2 separate regions of the Homo sapiens genome follow, and region 2 is linked to region 1. Evidence: promoter capture Hi-C in 16 types of primary human blood cells and fetal thymus (Javierre and others, 2016). All regions are on one chromosome and are shown on one strand. Each heading gives the region's core, a stretch centred on a gene start or on the middle of the fragment in contact. The rest is flanking DNA. Distances are from core to core; before and after follow the strand shown. Region 1 holds the start of VPS36 (vacuolar protein sorting 36 homolog). Region 2 has its middle 31 kb from the start of CCDC70.

Region 1 (2,966 bases), core at 195-2,694:
CCAATAAGTGGTAGGCTCTCTAAAATGTGTTCACAACCTTTAAAGCAGTCATTCTATTTTAGGAAGACACTGTAAGAAAATAATCCTAAAGAGAAAAATATGTATCAATTGTAGAAGGACATCTATAAGCTGCTCCATTTATTTATTTATTTATTATTTATTATTATTATTTTTGAAGCAGAGTCTCGTTCTGTCGCTCAGACTGGAGTGCAATGGTGCGATCTCGGCTCACTGCAACCTCTACCTCCAGGGTTCAAGCGATTCTCTTGCCTCAGCTTCCCGAGTAGCTGGGATTACAGGCACCCGCCACCACGCCGGGCTAATTTTTTGTATTTTTAGTAGAGACAGGGTTTCTCTATGTTAGCCAGGCTGGTCTCGAACTCCTGACTTGTGATCCGCCCGCCTTGTCCTCCCAAAGTGCTGGGATTACAAACGTGAGCCACCGCGCCCGGCCAGGTGTTCCATTTATAAAGCAAAATACAAAAATGAAATGGCTAGGGGCACGAGGCCGCCTGGTGGGTGAGAGCAGCGGCCATGGATGGCTTTGCGCAGACCAACAAACAGCTAAATTATAGAGGAACTACATATTGAAATGTAAATTCACGCATGAGGTCTGTATTAATATTGAAAATGCCTAAATAAAAATAATCTTTTTTTTCTGAGCCTGGGGGTGGGGGAGTGGAGTGGCGTGGGGGAGTTGGGGTGGAGGGGGAAAGGGTCTTTCTATGTCGCCCACTGGTGTCAAACTCCTGGGTTCAAGCAATCCTCCCGCCTCAGCTTCGGAAGCAGCTGGGAATACAGGCGCGCGCATCAAGCCCGGTTAAATAAAATCTGTTTCCCCCAGTTAAAAAAAAATTAATTTGTGTGGGTACATAGGTGTATATATTTCTGGGGTATATGGGATATTTTGATACAGGCATACACTGTATAATAATCACATCAGGGTAAATGAGGTATCCGTTACCTCAAGCATTTATCCTTTGTGTTACAATATAATCTTAAAGGGAAAAAAAGAGCAGCACAGGTAGTACTGACTGCAGCTGTACAGAAACAATGCGTGCCATAAATATTCATTTGAAAGAGAGGGGTTATGATTATTTACAATCATTAGCGAATGTAGCAACATTCTGGGCACTGACAAGAAAACTGCCACAAACATGCAGGCATAATGCACAATAAGCAAGTCCAAGCTGTGGTCGGGGCTCCCTCGCGTCCCTGTAAGCTCTGAATTTAGAATGGGGTGGACCGCCTGCTGATCAAGGGTTCTGAAAGGCCGGCGGCTAATGGACCGCCAGGGGGCGCTCCACGCACGTCTCCACGTCCCCGGGCGCACCTCGCAGCCGCGCCCGCTCGCTGCCAGGCCGCTCCCTCCGTCCCTCACCCGCCCCGACTCGCTTCCGTCCCGTCCGACGCTAGGGGGCGCCGCAGGCTGCCTGGCGCGCTGCTCGCGGCCTCGGAGGGCCGGGGCTGGGTGGCAGCGGCCATGGACCGCTTCGTTTGGACCAGCGGCCTCCTGGAGATCAACGAGACCCTGGTGATCCAGCAGCGCGGGGTGCGAATCTACGATGGCGAGGAGAAGGTAGGGCGTCTGCCAACCTTCCCAACGGGCTGGCGGAAGGGACCCCCGGTGGGCGCGCGGCCCGGCTCAGCGCGGCCCGGGTCGGCGCGGCCCGGTCCCCGGCTTAGCTCACGGCCCTCGGCGGCCCGGCAGGCCTCTGTGCGGGGTGCAGCGCTCTTGCGCTCCCCGCCGGTCGGTAGCACGTGGCGTGGGGCGCTCGGCTGCCTCCCCAGCGCGGGTCCCAACTTTGGCACGGTTCCCAGCAGGCGCGGATCGCGGCCGCTTCCCTCCGCCCGGAATGCTTCCGGGAGCGCACAGCTGCAGTGCCCGGGAGAAGGAGCGCTCGCCGTCTGCGGGCGCCGGGCGGCGATCCGGCAGTCGACTTCCTTGGCGTGGTTCCAGACCCCCTGACGACACCAACCTCGGCGTCGGCACCGGACAGCCCCGTTTCGCCTTTCTGTGAGGAGGGCGCGGTGGCCGTACAGTCCGTGCCCCAGCGGAAGCTTTAGCTTGGACCTTATGCAGTCGGAGGGATTAGCATATCTGGGCAGAGGGGTGAGGGATTGCTTCGAAAGGATTTCCTAAAGAGGTATCAGTGCTTCATTGGAATGCCCTTGCCAAAGGCTATTGGGTTTTTGTTTTGTTTTCTAATTGCTTTAGAAAGGCGTTCTGAGCGTGTTTTGTAAAGTGTTATATTAATAGTAGACCGTGCCTTGTAGTGCAAGCATAAATCTTAGAAGGTGCGTTTGCAAATCGAGAGGAGAAATAGGAAGTGTAAGTAAATATTTTGTAGATACTTTACTGAAACTATGAAATATCTTGTCCTGGATTGAAATGGATAAACTGGAATTAGAAAAATTTTAAAACTCATTTACCCACAAGCATTTTTGGTTTCCAGAAGTTTTAATTTGCTACCTCTCTTCCCTTGCCGTTTTATTAACGACACTTTCCGCTGTACTTTGATATAAGTTCCTCAACTCAGCTTTTCCTGGTAAGTGCTTACAGCTATTTAGAGGCACAGGTGACATTGGACCCAGGTCCTCTGACTCTCTTAGGGCATTTTCTATGGGCTGTGTTGCCTGTATTAGTGAGTAAAGGTCTTTTCCTTAAATAATTTGCTTGGACCTAACTTCACTTACTGCCTTAGCACTTCTTAATTTAATTAATTAATTTATTTATTTTGAGACAGAGTCTCGCTCTATCGCCAGGCTGGAGTGCAGTGGCGCGATCTGGGCTCACTGCAACCTCCGCCTCCCAGATTCAAGATCCTGCCTCAGCCTCCTGAGTAACTGGGATTACAGGCGCCTGCAACCATGCCCGGCTAATTTTTGCATATTTAGTAGAGACGGGGTTTCACCACATTGGCCAGGCTGGTCTCTAACTCCTGACCTCAAATGATCCGCCCGCC
Region 2 (2,966 bases), core at 214-2,713, 560 kb after region 1:
GACTCACAAAGAAAGAGTGTCTGTAGGGAGAGAGAACAGGCCCAACACATGAGGTGTGGAGAGCTGGAGAGCACTCATGCCTTTGCTTTAGTTCCTGAATCCAGTTGTGCCTGCAGCCACTTCTGTCCCTGTCCTTTCACAGTTATCTGTCCCAATACATCCCACTCCCTCCTTGATGATTTGAATTGTTGCTGACACTTTTTAACCTCTAAAGTTGTGATGACTACAAACTTGTTCCCCAAGCAGTTCTTCAATGCAGGGGGTGTGGTGTGTCTGTATCCATTTAGTCTCAATTTGAAGATTAGAAACTTGCTGGCCTGTCTCAGGCCTTCCAGGCTCCGTCCTGTGTGATGACTTCTTCCTTCTTTGCTCTGCATATAGCACTACTGTCTTCATCATTTATTACTATTGTGATCTTCGTTATTATTTAAATCATACAAAGTTCTGCATTGAGGATTTCATGTATTATATTTGTTTTCTCCACAACAAGATGACAAGCTTTTGGAATTATTTTTACATCTTAAAAAACAGTCTTTTCAGGACTGACCTTAATTCTGGGCACCTATCCAATAAATAACATTAATTAAATAAAAAACATTTTCCCAAACGCAGAAGCAACTGTGTGGCCTCCTCTGAGCACGATCACATTCCCTGGTGATCGAGTCTTCAGCTGATGCTGATCATTTGAATGTTCACATTCTCAATGTGAAGAGGCCAAGCAGAAGCGCATACGGTGTGAGCCAGGGGAAGAGATTTTTGTACAGCTCCTCTAAAGTAAACATTGTTTTGGGGAGAATCCCAGAAAAACACACATTCATCGTTGTTGCTGTTTTTTCCTGATTAGTCTCAGGACCACAGTGATTCTGAAGCAGCAGGTCCTGGTGAAGCTAAAGGAAGAGGGGGATCTGAGATTAGGGTGCAGGGAAGGAGGGACAATACTTCAGCACAGAAACAAGGCCCAGACTTTCTAATTTGGGATGCTTTTCGCATGTACTTCTTTACTGAGGGAGACAGAGCTTTTGATGCATTTAATACTGGCAAATTAAAATGGCTAAAACACAGATATAATTTAAGCTCTCTCCTAATCCTCTAAACAAATACTCGAGAACTGCAAAGAAAGAAAACTAAGCTAATCTCCATCTGAGAAGGTCTCCTTAGTTTGACTTCTGTTCCTGTGAACCCTTGGAGAGAAGGCCCTGGTACAAAGTCCTTGCCAGGGAGCTCATTGTTACTGCCAAGGACAGGTGGATGTTTAAGGAGTGTGTGCAGACAACTCAAGGAGCATGAAGGATGGATGTATGATGTTTGTCAGAAAATGGGAAGAGCTGAACAAATTAGCCAAGAACTTTTACTAGGTTCATTTACCTTTGTGTTGTAGTCAGGGTGCAGTAAAGAAAGGCAGGGAGTTTTGTGGACGGAATTTAATACAGCAGGCTAGTTAGAAGGACGTTATAAAACCAGGGGAGGGTGAGGCAACCCAGAGATTAGCAACTGCAGGAAGCCATTACCACTGCTAGGACGGAGGAACAAAGGGAGGGGACTGAGCCACCAGACCCAGGAACTGTGAGCTGGAACTGTGGAGGAGGGGCTGCATGAGATGCCACCTGAGGACCCTATGGCTGAAACCATGGGGGAAAGGCCATCATGGGGAATGGGAAATGGAAGCCAAGAAGAGGCTGTGTGATGGAGCTGGGTCCAAGGAGGAAATGTGGTCACCTACAGAGAGAGATGTAGTCACTGCCCAAGAAAAGACTGGAAAGGGAGGTGGAGCTGGTGTATTACCAAGTTTCCCTCTTCTTCCATCCATGCCTCCATTGGCTCAATCTAACAGGAAGCAAGTGGGCACAGAAGCCATCCCCCAACAATACCAAGCAGAGTAGGGGAAGGTGGGTAATGGGTCTGAAAGCAAGCAGATAACTTGCCTACCTGTGCCCCCTATTTTTCTGCCACACAAGTCTGCATGCTTTGGGGCACAGCAGATGTTCCAGGCTGAGATGAGATGACAATGATGATGAAAAACTGTGTACAGCGGAGTAGATGTTCCCACTTCCAGGCTTCGATAAACATAAACCAGTATATCTATTGATGGTTGACAGGAAAAGATTCCCAGTCTTCCAAGAGTCTCAGATCCCACCACCCCTGAGGGGCAGAGACTAGTCCTGCTCTTCCTGAGTTTCTCCACAGTCAGCAGGTGCCACAGGAGACTCAGATGAGGCAGGGAAAGGAGAGCCTTTCAGCTCTTCTCCCTGAGCCCTGTTTCCCCACCTCTTCCACATCTGGGTATGAAAATGGACCGTATTGCCACTGGGAGAAAGCCAAATCCCTAAATGTGAGCTCGCATAGCATTACTAATACACCTGATCTTCAGAATTTTGGTTAACACAAGTTTACACATATTTTCAAAAAATCATTGACCTTACAAAGCTTTTATTTGACTTTCAATTCCATTCTATTGACTGCCCTTGCCCCCCTCCAACCCCCACTGCCCAGTGGGCAAACAATCCTGATCAAGCTCACCCTTCCCTCCTCCAAATACTCTTTCCAAATACTCAGGACTAGAAGCTAGGGGTTCGAATCAAAAATGAATAAGACACAGTCCTGCCTCTTTTTCCTTCCATTTCCCTAGAACAGTAGTTGTCCCTCTCCTGCAACCCACCCCTGCGGAATCCTTCGTGCAGATGTCATGTCACTGAGGAAAATAATGCACAAAGCAGGGAAAGTGAAGGTGCTGTGCTTCAGTTGGGCATAGGAGCCCCAATCCCCTCCTCACCACCTCCCCCAGCCTGGGCTCATTCTGGAAATCCCTGGACCTTTTCAAAGCAGAGTTTGCAAATTTCTGCTTCAGGGCAATTCAGTAAATGCATGTAAACTCCTTAGCAAATCTGTTGGGAGATAGAACCTAAATTAGGCTTGTCATAAAAATTGCTAAACTTTACTGCTTGTGTGCTTGTTGGCTAATAGGAATC

Evidence for each region. The method cuts DNA at HindIII sites, captures the fragments that hold promoters and counts their contacts. A CHiCAGO score of 5 or more calls a contact.
Region 2: a contact is called between a fragment that was not itself captured here and the fragment with the promoter of VPS36 in region 1, in 1 of 17 cell types (M0 macrophages). The highest score is 5.2, in M0 macrophages.

Annotation. Positions count from the first base shown.
Region 1 is chr13:52,449,112-52,452,077 of GRCh38, reverse strand. It overlaps VPS36 (vacuolar protein sorting 36 homolog), which reads left to right and starts at 1,444. Exons shown (of 14, transcript NM_016075.4): 1 at 1,444-1,579. The coding sequence starts at 1,484. RefSeq lists silencers at 1,198-1,257, 1,298-1,757 and an enhancer at 1,278-1,858. The HindIII fragment of the contact is 2,912 bases long and covers 1-2,063 here.
Region 2 is chr13:51,891,373-51,894,338 of GRCh38, reverse strand. It overlaps a transcript of TMEM272 not described here. Among named protein-coding and RNA genes, the nearest start is that of CCDC70, 31 kb to the right of the region's middle. The HindIII fragment of the contact is 1,926 bases long and covers 501-2,426 here.